Regions from separate parts of the Homo sapiens genome. Here all the other regions are linked to region 3. Evidence: promoter capture Hi-C in 16 types of primary human blood cells and fetal thymus (Javierre and others, 2016). All regions are on one chromosome and are shown on one strand. Each heading gives the region's core, a stretch centred on a gene start or on the middle of the fragment in contact. The rest is flanking DNA. Distances are from core to core; before and after follow the strand shown. Region 1 overlaps RHBDD1 (rhomboid domain containing 1). Region 2 overlaps IRS1 (insulin receptor substrate 1). Region 3 holds the start of WDFY1 (WD repeat and FYVE domain containing 1).

Evidence for each region. Contacts are between HindIII fragments. The CHiCAGO score rates a contact against its expected background, and 5 or more counts as called.
Region 1: a contact is called between a fragment that was not itself captured here and the fragment with the promoter of WDFY1 in region 3, in 4 of 17 cell types (naive CD8 T cells, non-activated CD4 T cells, total CD4 T cells and 1 more). The highest score is 14.6, in naive CD8 T cells.
Region 2: a contact is called between a fragment that was not itself captured here and the fragment with the promoter of WDFY1 in region 3, in 1 of 17 cell types (naive CD4 T cells). The highest score is 6.2, in naive CD4 T cells.

The regions. Positions count from the first base shown.
Region 1 is chr2:226,837,176-226,841,565 of GRCh38, reverse strand. RHBDD1 (rhomboid domain containing 1) reads right to left here. Exons shown (of 9, transcript NM_001167608.3): 2 at 3,412-3,493; 3 at 1,939-2,157. Among named protein-coding and RNA genes, the nearest start is that of RHBDD1, 3.3 kb to the right of the region's middle. The HindIII fragment of the contact is 703 bases long and covers 2,112-2,814 here.
Region 2 is chr2:226,786,463-226,790,701 of GRCh38, reverse strand. All of the region lies in intron 1 of IRS1 (insulin receptor substrate 1), which reads left to right. Among named protein-coding and RNA genes, the nearest start is that of IRS1, 11 kb to the left of the region's middle. The HindIII fragment of the contact is 982 bases long and covers 1,018-1,999 here.
Region 3 is chr2:223,943,662-223,948,071 of GRCh38, reverse strand. It overlaps WDFY1 (WD repeat and FYVE domain containing 1), which reads left to right and starts at 2,737. Exons shown (of 12, transcript NM_020830.5): 1 at 2,737-2,924. The coding sequence starts at 2,788. It overlaps LOC124907989 (a long non-coding RNA gene), which reads right to left. Exons shown (of 2, transcript XR_007088100.1): 1 at 3,665-4,410; 2 at 1-231. RefSeq lists a silencer at 2,986-3,165 and enhancers at 3,736-3,795, 3,806-3,925. The HindIII fragment of the contact is 5,306 bases long and covers 1-4,410 here.

The DNA.
Region 1 (4,390 bases), core at 1,214-3,713, 2.9 Mb before region 3:
AGAAAACCAAACACTGCATGTTCTCACTTATAACTGGGAGCTAAATGATGAGAACACATGGACACAGAGCAGGGAGCCACCACACACTGGGGCCTGTCAGGGAGGTGTGGTAGGCAGGGAGGAACAATAGCTAATGGATGTGGGGCTTAATACCTAGGTGACAGGATGATCTGTGCAGCAAACCACCATGGCACATGTTTACCTATGTAACAAACCTGCACATCCTACACACGTACCCTTGAACTTAAAAGCTGAAGAAAAAAAAATTAGCTGGGTGTGGTGGCACATGTCTGTAGTCCCAGCTACTAGGGAGGCTGAGGTGGGAGGATCAACTGAGCCCAGGAGGTCCCGGCTGCAGTGAGTCAAGATCACACCACTGCACTCCAATCTAGGTAACAGAGTGAGACTCTGTCTCAAAAAAAATAAATAAATGAATGAAAAATGAATACGCCTTGAAAGAAAAAAACAAGAAATTTCCTTCAATATGTTAGGATGAGGGCGACTACATGGGCAGTATGCACAAAATTCATTCCTAGGTTTGTTCAAATTTAGAATCACAACTGATTCATTGCAACACACATAATTGCAATATTGCTGGTATCAGTAATATATTTTTAAAAAACGTAGTGAAATTTTTTTCACAGTATTGCCCAAGAGACTTTTTACTTAAGAAAAAAAAAACCCAAATTATATGTAGTTGCCAAAACACACATACACACAAGTCCACACACACACCCCTATATATTATTTATAAAACTGAAGTCATTGTAAGTAACATTTATATTTATTTCATTCATTACTATCCTGATATTGTGACTTTGCATTAAAAATGCATAAGCAAGTTAACACCTGGAGAAACAGCTGTTGGTGTAATGACAACATTCCTAGAGCTAATGCCAGAAGATCTGGGGTCAAATATGGAGGCCATCATGTACTAGTATGTGGCCTTGGGCAAATCATACAACCAGTACTGTAGAGCTTCTGTTTCTTTATCCATAGATGGCAAAAAATTCCACTTACATTCTAGAATCACCATCAAGAATAAATGAAATAGGGTATTATGTTAAAGCGTGCAGTGCATCACCAAGGTTTTTCACTCTCCTTTCCTCTCCTTAATGAGATTTTCCTGCCCTTAGAGCTAGATTCTATTACTGTGTAATTATGAGGTGCATGTAACAATGTCCAAGAAACTAGATGGTAAATAACCCCAACATGCAAACCGGAATGCACACATTGTTAGTTGGCCATCACGTAGATCCCAAAGGTCTCTTGCCCATTATCTGTTGCTTCCCAGAAATTTGATAGATTTTCTTTCCTGAAACAGCCAAAGTTATCTATGGGCTTTGAAATATCACCATCATGATATTGCCACAAAGCAGCTGGTTGATTGAAAGTAACTCCCCCTCCCCCAAGCTCCAGCTGTCACCAGGAAACCCTCTTCAATGTGTGAAAAAGACAATGTAATATCACTAACTACCACTATTAGTAACAATCTAACAAATACTTAGCATTTGAAATTATTTTTCTTATGAAGGCTCATTATTAACTAAAAATTAACTCTAAAAAAACACTTTACTATATAAATATAGAGTAGTTGCTTCCATACAACAAAAAAATGATAGGGCTATAAACACAAGTAATACACTTCCTTTGACTCCTTGTTTCTTTTTCCCCGAGTCATTTGTAATCCTAAACAACAGTCAGTTAAAATGCCAAATAGCTTTTAATAGCGATACAGCTGTCACAACTTGGAGGGATTTTTTAAAAAGCTAATTCCTCAAAAAAGTGCACAGAATCCTACTTTGTAAAATACGGGTCAGGTGGGTTTTTTTTTTTCTCAATAATCACTCACTCCTCTGCATGAGAAGCCATCCATATGGTGACATGGCTGACAACCTTGGAAATTGTCTTCAGAACAAGTTTGTGAATCCCACTTACCAGAATTCTTAATACCATTACGTTTTAGGTATAGCTCATGCCCTGAGGATTTCTATTCCACCACAGAGTTTCACGTCCAGCTCCCCGGAATCCGAGGTTCCCTAGGCACGCCTCCTAATATCGCTGCCAAGGACCAAGAGCCTGTGCCCTTCAACCTCACTGTTCTTAAAGCTTCTCGGCTCCTGAGTTTTACAGGTAAGATTCTGTTTAAGAGGCTCCCTGTTGAAAAAAAATATGAGGTCCATTGCTTACGTGGCTATGACTGCAACATAAAAGGAAATCTACCTTTTAAAGAATCGCTTCCGTTTTTAATAGTTTTTTTAAAGAACATTTACATATACATGTACGTATCTAATTTTACATATATAGAAAATTTCCTTTTATACTTGGTCCCCACCCCCATATTCCAATATACTGACAAATAAAATTATGACCTAGTGTGAGTCAAGTATTTTCTGCACTCATACATTCATATACAATATAAACACACAGAAATACATGTAAGAGATTTTGTTATCCCTTATTAAAAAATGTAATGTAAAACTTTTCACTTTGCTATTAAGAATTCGTGTTTTAAAAAAATATTAGCAATTTCAGGGCTAACAGCATTTTCTCATCCTTTGATGCATACCTTCAACGAGGTCTCATTTCCTGTAACAGTGTCCCCTTCTCTAGCTGACTGTCCCCATTAACTAACAGAAGATACTTTATTACTCATCCCCTGACCTTTGGATGTTTACCTTGCTGTAAACATCCAAAACAATTTCTACAAGTTGCTCTGTTACAGTGATAAAACTGAAGATGGTGTTTTTTCACGTTAAAGTTTCAACTTTTTTCAAGTGTTTGTTTTTTCTCATTCACAATAATATGAAAGCTTTGACTCCATTTCAGCATTTTATGGTTAAAAAGAAAAGCAGTGCAGTTAGGTAATAAAATTACCTCATTTATAAAAATATTATAAAATGAATGGCATAAAGTTAGGTTTGAGACAACAAATACCTTTTTTCCCTTTGTCCGACACACAACATTTACTGAGCCTCTGTGCCTAAAACAAGGTGGACGTGTTTTATGCGTTATTTCATTTAATTCAATGGCCTGAAGTAGCACATCCTATGACTCCTACTTTACAGAAATTCAAGTGGGGAGGATGTTAATTTGTCTAATGTACACAATCACTAAGTAGCAGAGGCAAGATTCAGAGCAGGGCTTGTCTGACCTAAAACCACAGATAGCGATCTGCCTCTCCGATGAGGAGAACAAAAAAAAATATTTAATGCCTTCGAAAAATAAACATTTCATGATGGGGCAGTGCCAATTTGGTGGCAGAGCTAACGAAATTATTTCCAGAATAATCCATTCAAAGTGACTTATGTTTATCTGAAAACTCTCTCAATATCCAGGAGCCATGGTATAGCCTTGGGAGCAGCGTGCTCTCATCAAAACGACATGTGTAGGCCACGGTTTGGCACTGACCTTCTCAACATTGCAGTGAATGTAGCCTTTAGAGCAGCTGCTTTAAATCCTGAATATTTCTTTCTCCCCCTACAATGGACCCCTGAAAGAGATAAAGTTGTAAGAAAATACTGCATCTAAAAAACACAGCAGGTTGAGGGCACTCCTGTGATCCTTCCTGAAAATGGAGGTATCTAGAGTAGACATGAGATCTTTGCTACCGTGGAGTTGTACGACATATGGGAAACAAAGATAAGGACAGAAACATATTCAGCCTTGGCTTTCGCTTGCAAGTCACTATGTTACAATAATTCTCAACTCTAAAACTAGTGCTTACCTCTGGTCTTTACCAAATTCTGGGTCAAAGAAGGTATAACTAAACTGAAGACGAGGCAGGTGGATTACCTGAGGTCAGGAGTTCGGGACCAGCTTGGCAAACGTGGTGAAACCGTCTCTACTAAAAATACAAAAATTAGCTGGGCGTGGTGGCAGACGCCTGTAATCCCAGCTACCTGGGAAGCTGAGGCAGGAGAATCGTTTGAACCCTGGAGGCAGCGGTTACAGTGATCCAAGATTGCACCATTGCACTCCAGCCTGGGTGGCAGAAAGAGACTGTCTCCAAACAAAGCTGAAGAGATCAGAAGGCCAAAGAATTAAAAACTACTCTTCAACATAAATACTAATGCTATTCTTAAAAATCCTACAACCACAATAGCATTAGTATGCACTGCTTTAACTTTTAACTGAATATCCTGCATCCAACAACCTTGACTACACAGAATTGAGAATCCCGAGGTAAACAAAATACCCTCTAAGCAGCAGTCCCAATATCCATGCGCTACAGCTCATATCTACCCCGCTGAAGAATCCTTCCAGCACAAACTATGTACTTATTTTATGCAGTTCTAATAAGTTACTTAATAACATCTTTGAGGGTTTTCTATGTGTTTTGTGTTAAACATTTTTCTTGCATCTTCATATTCCAGCCCTGTGAGGTAAC
Region 2 (4,239 bases), core at 259-2,758, 2.8 Mb before region 3:
ATTTCTCACCAGCCAACATCCCTCTTGCATCACTGAATCATAAGATCCCAGGGCAGCGCTTTTTCTGAGGGGCCAAGTGAAACATCACAGGTGGAAACGTACCAAGCAGGTGCAAATGTTATGACCCAAAACTGCTACTGAGCAGTGGGAGAGAGTTTCTCTGTTGTTCCAGAAAAGTTTGAGCAGCTAATAATTTGCTTAATGTTTGCAATTGTTTAGGTATCTTTTTATAGTAAAAATAAATCCATAAAATGTTGCATATATTGTAGTCATTTCTCTGAGTTCCCCCTCAATAAATACTATCTCCAGCATTGCCCTACAGGAAGAGACTTGGGATCCAAAGGGCATGCCACCTTTTTTTTTTTTTTAAATCACAATTCCAGGAAAATAGCTTTGTGCTATCTTAAATGATGCAATGGAAAAAGCAGTTCTTGGGAGCCAGAGATCTTGGGCTCCAACACAGCCTGTGCCCTTCACTAGCAGAGTGACCTTGGGCAAGTCACTTAATTTCTCTGGACCTATTTCTTCATCAGTAACTTGAGGATTTTGTTCTAAATTATTCTAACCTCCTTTGCAGCTCTAAACATAGGAATGTTGTGGAGAAAATGACTGATACTCTTTAATGGGTCAGTTGCAATGAGGATTCTTTCCGAAGAAGCTGTTGACAGGGTCATGATAAAGCATGAGAATAGCCTGTTCTGTCCATTTCTAGCCTTTGGATCAGACATTCTTTATGGACAGACTGGGGCCTGGAAGGAAAACATTGTTTGATTCAGGCCTGACATTAACTTTTCTTGCTTCAAGGGGGCATTTTCGAGTTTTAACAAACCCTAAGACAAACCCTCCTGATCGACCAGCCTAAGTTTTTGGAACCATCTCTAGACTGAATTATGCTCCTCTTCCTTCCGCCTTTTTAAAAATAAAATGTGTGTGGGAATGCAAGGCACCTGCTAGTTCCTACATCCTAAGGTCAGCTCTCAGAAACATCCCACCCCTCCCCACACTATAGAGTAAGCTTTAACCAGTGCACACTGTGGAAATTAACACATGCATCCTGTTGGAAATCACCTCTTTTTCAGGGGTGGTGTGTTTGTGGATAATGTGTCTCATTTGTACCATCAGTGTTCTTCAGTGAGACAGCCATTTAAGTGAATGGTAAGGAAATTTGAGAAGCCAACTGGGGACTATAGGAGGCCTTCCACAATTTTTTCTTTAGCTTTATTTTTCTCTCTTAGGTGTATGAAACAACTCAATATTTCTCTTGCTGGCAAAATTAGTGTTGTCCAGATTTTTTGTGCTTTAGGGTTTTTGATTAGTTAGTTGAGCCAACACTGCTTTTCCAACCCTGTGTTATCTTGACTGTTGAGTTGCCAATATATTCAGAAGCTCCGACCTTTTTTGTCCCTCCATGTGGATTTCACAAGTCATTAAAATAGTCTGTTGCCTCTTAAGAAACTCCACGGACTTATGCTTTTCCAATCCTCTCACTATAATCAGATATGTGTCTTAGCTGAATAGTATATAAATGGTTCCTTTTATTTTGATGGGTTGGTAATTTAGTATATTGGAACATTTCACAGTTTTAAGGTTTTGTTTTGTTTTAAAGAAAGCCATTTCCTCAATTATTTCCTCATGTTACAAAGTTACTGGAAATTGTATTCAAGGAAAATAGCTTCTTGTGAATCATGCTTGAAGCCAGTTTCACACTAAAGATCCTGTAACTTTTTTTCATACTAGTATTTTTTTGCATGTAAAATAATAGATCCTGCCTCTACCACATTTATAATTATGTAACTGATTTATTCCTTCGTTACCTTATTAGTCCATAGCTATGCAGCAGACTTTGAGAGCTGTCTTTAAAATGTTATTGAAACATGTTCAGAAAGTGTAATCATATTGAATTTTAACTTAAAATTACATTTTAACGTTAGTATGATATAATAATTGCATACTAATTTCAAACTAATATGACATAGTTACAAAAATTTATTGTAAAGCTTTTTAAGAAGATAGGTTAGTAAGTATCATCTATTTGCTTCTATTTTTGTCTTATACTTTGGAAATGGTAGTACCTCTCCCATTCTTAATTCACAAAAAGGGAGAAGATGGATTGGACAAGTATAAGGTACTGTCATGTATGATAAAAGGAACACTTTCCATTTTAATAGTATTCTTGCAGCAGGCTCTGCTATAATCTATTTGTTGAAATAAATTTGGTTGGATAAATGTTATTTGTGCTTATTCAGTGAGCCAGTGATCTTTGAATAATAGAGCTTTGAAAAAGATGTATTTATGTTGAAAAGGCTTTTTGACCCTTTTTCTGTATTTTCCATTGATAATGGCAGTAGAGTTGAATACATGGGTCAGACTATGATTCTAGTTGCAGTTTTCTTAAAGCAGAGTAGAGATTTTGTGGTTTTATTACTCTACCAGGAATGTTTTATTGAGTAAGCTGAGTTGGATTGCATTCATTGTATTCCTTTTTACCATCCCAAGTTTTATAAATATTGCATATTACATATGTATCCTTGCACTCCACTTTTATTGTTGACCAAAGAATACTTTAATGCATGTTCTCTGATCCTCCCTGACATATTTAGGTCATATTGCTGAACAATATCACTTAATCTTGAGAAGTTTTCTCACGTTTGTTGAAATGATCAAAGAGACGTTTTTTTTTTTGAATATATGTAATGTGGCAAACAAATTATGTTTTGCACAGAAAGTCATGATTTTTACTTTTAGGAAGGATATGATCTAAGTGAGCTAGCAAAATAATAAAAGACATTTATAAACATTTAGCAGTTAGTTAAAGGCCACTGGAATATTGAGTAATTGCTAAGTAGTCAACTATAATTTATCTAATCTTCTCCAATCATCATGTCCCTATTCACTTAAAAATTATTTGGAGGGCTCTATGGATATGAAAAATAATTATGTTTACCCTTGAGTTTTAGGGGTTGTGGGGACAATCAGAAGATCAGAAGATCTTTAATTGTCTTTAATACTATTCAAGCCCACCACCCATTTCTCAACCCTAACATAAATTATCTGCTTTTGTCAAATAGGCCCTAAGCCATTTTTTCTTGTTCTTCCCCTCCCCTTCTTTTACTCAGTAAGCTCTATTGAGCACCTATCATGTTCCAAATAGTACACCTTTTATTGAAAGGGGATGAAGGTAGATTCATGGAAATGGAGGGAAAAATGGTACTGAGAGGAGATCACCAAAGGAGTTACCAAATTTCTTATGACATAAGTTATCCGGGAAAACCAAATCAAGATTCCGATTGTGTAGTTCACAAAAGTTGGCATTTTTCATAAACCTAAAGGGCAAAAGTGCCCATCTAGCTTAAAGGTTTGTATTTTTCTGAATCTTTCTAACCATGGCTTCCTGTCTGACAATACCATCAGCATACTAAATAATCAGGAAGGAACTCTCATTTGGAAGAATGGCCCATTTTTGGATATTAAGCTTGCAAACATAATATTGACAAAAAGCAGGAAAAAAGATATCTTTGCTTTGGATCTTTAGTCCCAGTGAAAGCAACCAGAAGAAGAGGCATCCAGCTGTTAAATGAAGAGGGGTTGAATGTGGACTTGTTATGGGGTGGTCAGTGTTAGGAAACCTGGGGGGAAAGTGGGGGCTACAAAATAAATTTTAAAGTCTTTTCTTGCTATCTTAGCTTTGTTATTCAAGGACTTTTTTCTTTTTTTTCCTTTGGGTGGGTGGTTTTTATTTTTAATGAAGAAAAGGTCCAACACTTTGAACTGTGGTTCCTTGCTTGCTTCTGGCTGCAAGTATAATTGCTTTTGAGATTTTTCTCCCTCTGTTTTGATGATATGCAGTCACGTTTATTTTTAAGTTTGTGGTAGTCTCTTACAGAAACATGTTTTAAAAGTTTTTTTTTTTTTTTTTAGACTACCAAGTTTTATAATAGCTTGCTGGGTCTCTTCACACTATTTTTTTCTCTGTATTTTTGTATAGGTGATACATGTACATGCTGTAAGTTTCCAATTTTTTTTGGTTTTTTTTTGTTGTTGTTGTTTTTGTTTTTTTTTTTTTAAGGTAGAGAGTGAAAAATAAGGCTTCCTCCCACCTTTGTCCCCAGTTTCTCATAGGCCACCATCACTGCTGGGTTTTGTTTATCTTTCCAGAGATAGACTGCTTATAAATTTTGAAGCTTTGTAATAAAAAGTTGGTTAAATGCCCAACTGCTCCAAGTCTTCTATGGAAGAATA
Region 3 (4,410 bases), core at 1,488-3,987:
GGCTGTCTCTACAAAACCCCTGGCATGTGCTCACCTCAATGCCTTAACACGTGCTCTTTTCTTTTCCAGAAAAGTATTTGGCCCACATTTCCACATGGCTTACTCCCTCCTCTCCTTCTTGGCTCAAAATGTAACTTTACAATGAGGCTTTTACTTGTCTCAGGTTGCATTCTCCAGCAGCAGATACGGTGATAGAGGTTGGCTCAGAGGGTGTTTATTAGGAATCAATGCCTGTGAAGGGAGGGGGAGGTACCAGGATTAGGCAGGAGAAGTCAGCTGCAGTACACGCCTTACAAAGCCTTGTCCAATCTAGGAGAGAGTTCTAGAGCAAGTGTTGCTCATCGGTCTGTCTTGATGGTCAGGCCTTTATCCTCCTATCTTGTTCAGTTACTGAATGTGGGCTTCCCTGTGAAGGGAACAACTGAGACCCAGTGGTTCTCAGCAGCTGGGGCAGTCCCTGAAGGAGCTGAAGGCTAGAGGCTCTCTGCTGACCACTGTTCTTCCCTGAAAGCAGATCTGTGCAGTGTATTCCTGAATCTATCACACCATCTATTTAAAATCGCAACATCCCCTAGAGTCCCTATCACCCTTCCCTGCTTTATTTTCTCCATAGCATTTAATAGCATTGAACATCTTCTAATATATTATATAATTTAGTTTACTATCTGTTTCCTTCACTGGGATGTAAGTTCTAACAGCAGAGGGATTTTTGTCTCTCTTGAGCACTGCTGCATTTAGAATGGCACCTGGCTCACAGCAGGCACTTGGGAGATGTTGGTTGATTAAACAAAGTTGTTCAGTAGCGTGTCTAGTCATTACACTGTACAGCCTCACAAAAACCATGTCTTATTAATCTCATCAGCAACAGCATATAGTAAGTGTGCGATATATGTCTGTTGAATATAGGAATAAATAAATTCATGAATGTTTGTTAATAACTTCATCATGAGAAAGTATTAGTACAATGGTGGCTCCTGCCCGTAATCCCAGCATTTTGGGAGGCTGAGGTGGGCAGATGATTTGAGGGCAGAAGTTTGAGACCAGCCTGGTCAACATGGTGAAACCCTGTCTCTAGTAAAAATACAAAATTAGCCAGGCATGGTGGTAGGTGCTTGTAATCCCAGCTACTCGGGAAGCTGAGACAGGTGAATCCCTTTAACCTGGGAGGCGGAGGTTGCCGTAAACCGAGATCGCACCACTGCACTCCAGCCTGGGTGACGGAGTGAGTTCGTCTCAAAAAACTAAAACAAAACAAAACAAAAACAAAAAGAAAGTTCTAGTAAATCACTGTACATAGAAGTACCATCTGATTCACATCCATAATTTAAAGTTTTTATTAGCTACCTTAAAAAAATAAGCAGGTCATATTAATTTTAATAGTATCTAACTCAATATATCCAAAATAGTATCATTTCAACATGTAATCATTGTAACAATTATTGATGAACTATATTACATCTTTTTTGTTTTGTGCTAAGTCTATAAAATCTTGTAGTATTTTGCACTTGTACTACATCTCAGTTTGGACAAGCCACATTTCAAGTGCTCTATAGTCATGTGGATAGTACGGTTCTAATGCAATTCTGCAATTCAGGTGTCAGAATAATATAGTGGGGCAGAAGTTTGGAGTCATTGACTTCCTGAGTCCAAATTTTGGCTCTTGAACTTACTGGTTGTCAATGACCTCTAGCCAAAAACCACCAGGAACAAATGGGGTTGATTGCTTGTTGGAGGGAGAAGACACACCATTGGGAATGGTGAGGTGTCTGGGTAAAGGGATGTTCGGACAGTTTTATTATAGGATTTGTGTTTGTGTTAGGTGACCTGGGAGAGCTTAAGGAAGAGAGGCTCTCCTGTGGACTGGATGTTGTCAGGAAATGCGTATAATTCTAAGGTTGCATATCTTAATAAATCTTATCTAAATGGAGGAAGACTAGATAGCGGTTAACATTATAATTAATAAAGAAATAAGAGTCACTCATATTAGCCAGGATAGGGGGATGTTTGGTAATTTCTGTGGCTTGTACATCGCTCATATTTTGGCCGTGTTTAGATGTGATTATGGAGTGGCCTCGTCTGATGTTTATGTTCCACAGGAAGCAAACACTTCCTAGCAACACCAAAGCTCAGCTGATAGTACCAGGCAGCTCCTGGAGATCAAGGGCTGCTTTTCTCCCTCTCATAGCTGTGCAACCTTAAGGTAGTGATCAAACTTCTCTGGTTGTTTTCTCATCTCTAAAATGGGAATACAAGAGCATCTATTTCATCTCTTAAAATTATCAGTATTAAATGAGATGCAAAGACACTGAGTTAATGCCTGGTATATGGTCACCACTCAGTGCTATCTATTGTAGTTCAAAGATTCTAAGATGCACTATATTTTTTCACATTTTAACATTTCTGAAAGTGTGTGCCTTTCAAACAATGGCTTCTTCAAATGGATGAAATGTAGTATTGTAATTTCTGAAATCTCTGGTTTGGGGGACAATTCCTTGTCCCCTCCAGGTGCTCAATTTATTCCTGGGTGAATGGCTTTACTTTTAAACCTTCCTTACTTTCCCCATTTCTCCGCAGGCGCCCCGTGGCATCCTCTCCCAGCCACAGACTTTCAGCTTGCGCGGCATCCCCAGGCAATACGGGCGGTGCGGCGGCAGCACTCGGGGGCTTACGGCGGCGCGGCGCCCAAGAGGCCCCAGCAGCCGAAGGGAAACCGGCGCGTCCCCCGCCCGCCCAGGCGTCAGCTGATGGGCTGCCTGCCGAGGAGGCCGCAGCAGTCGCCGCGCGAACATGGCGGCCGAAATCCACTCCAGGCCGCAGAGCAGCCGCCCGGTGCTGCTGAGCAAGATCGAGGGGCACCAGGACGCCGTCACGGCCGCGCTGCTCATCCCCAAGGAGGACGGCGTGATCACGGCCAGCGAGGACAGGTAGGGCCCGGGCGCAGCCGGGGCGGCCCGAACTCCGCGACGACGGGGTGTGGGGGCGGTGGGGTCCGCGGCCCCGGTCCTTCCTGCGTGAGGGGGCTCCCCCGGCAGCACGGCCCCACCCCCACTCTGCGCCCCTTAGCTCCGCCGGGTTCCCGGTTCCCTCCCGCCGGTCCTCCAGCCTCGACTTGCACCTTTCCAGCCTGGGACCCCGGTCTCGCCGCGCCCCTCCAGCCCGGATCCCCTGTCCCACCGCGCCCCTCCAGCCCGGGAACTCCGTCTCACCGCGCCGCCCAAGCCCGGGACCCTTGTTCCAACGTGTCTTTCCAGCCCAGGACCCCTGTTCCAGTGCGCCCTACCGCGCCCCTCCCAGCCCACCTCGCCCCTCCTGCTCAGGACCCCTGTTCCAATGCTCCCCAACGCGCCCCTCCAGTCCGGGACCCTTGTCCCACTGCGCCCGTCCATCCCGGGAGCTCCGTCCCACCGCGCCCCTCTAGCCCGGATCTTCTGTCCCACTGCGCCCCTCCAGCCCGGGAACTCTGTCCCACCGCGCCACTCAAGCCCGGGACCCCGGTTCCAGTGCGCCCCAACGCACCTCTCCAGCCCAGGACCTCTGTCTCACCGCGCCCCTCCAGCGCGGGAACTCTGTCTCACCGCGCTGCTCAAGCCGGGGACCCCTGTTCCAGTGCGCACCAACGCGCCCCTCCCAGCCCACCGCGCTCCTCCAACCAGGGAACCCCGACCTGCGGTGTCGCACTAGCCTGGGACCTTCGTCCCGGTCTCTCTCCCTGGCGGGGTTTAGCCTGGTACTCGGAAGGTGTTTCTTGGCCCTCCCGGGTCAGTTCCAAATCGTCTCCTCTGGAAGCGTGGAGGACCGGCGGCTGGTCACTGCGGACCCTGGTGCCCGGGGCTTGCTTCTTTGCGAGGAACTCCAGCCGCCTTCGCTCTCTTCCTCCCCCTGTACTCAGGGATTTCACGCCACGCCAGGCCTCTAGATCAGTTATTTTTGCCACGGCTGCTAGAATCACCTGAACTCTTATTTACTAAATAGGTTTTTGTGAAAGTGACTCATTTTTAAAAATATTTGGATGCATTTATTTTAAAAGGAAATCTTATTTATTAGGAAAACTAACATTACTCACCAGACAGAGTAAACTAATAACTAAAACATGTTAATTGGCATGCACACAGAGTCCTCTCTTGCACTGTGACATCTTGCATTGGACGCCCACCATGCTTTTGGGAAACACTGATTGGGTCCAGTTTTCTCATTTCTCCTAAGAGGAAGCCGAGGCTGGTGGAGGTGTAGCTTGCTGCTAAGTTACAGAGATACTGGTGAAGCCGGAAATGCAATCCAGAACTCCCACCAGCTCTGGGCCTGAGTGATTGGATTGGAACAGTATTTATGATTCGACTTTAAACTTTAGCGTCTTTCAAATCCTAAAGGTTTACAATGTCAGTAGCTTTCCGGTGGGAATTTGAAGGAAAT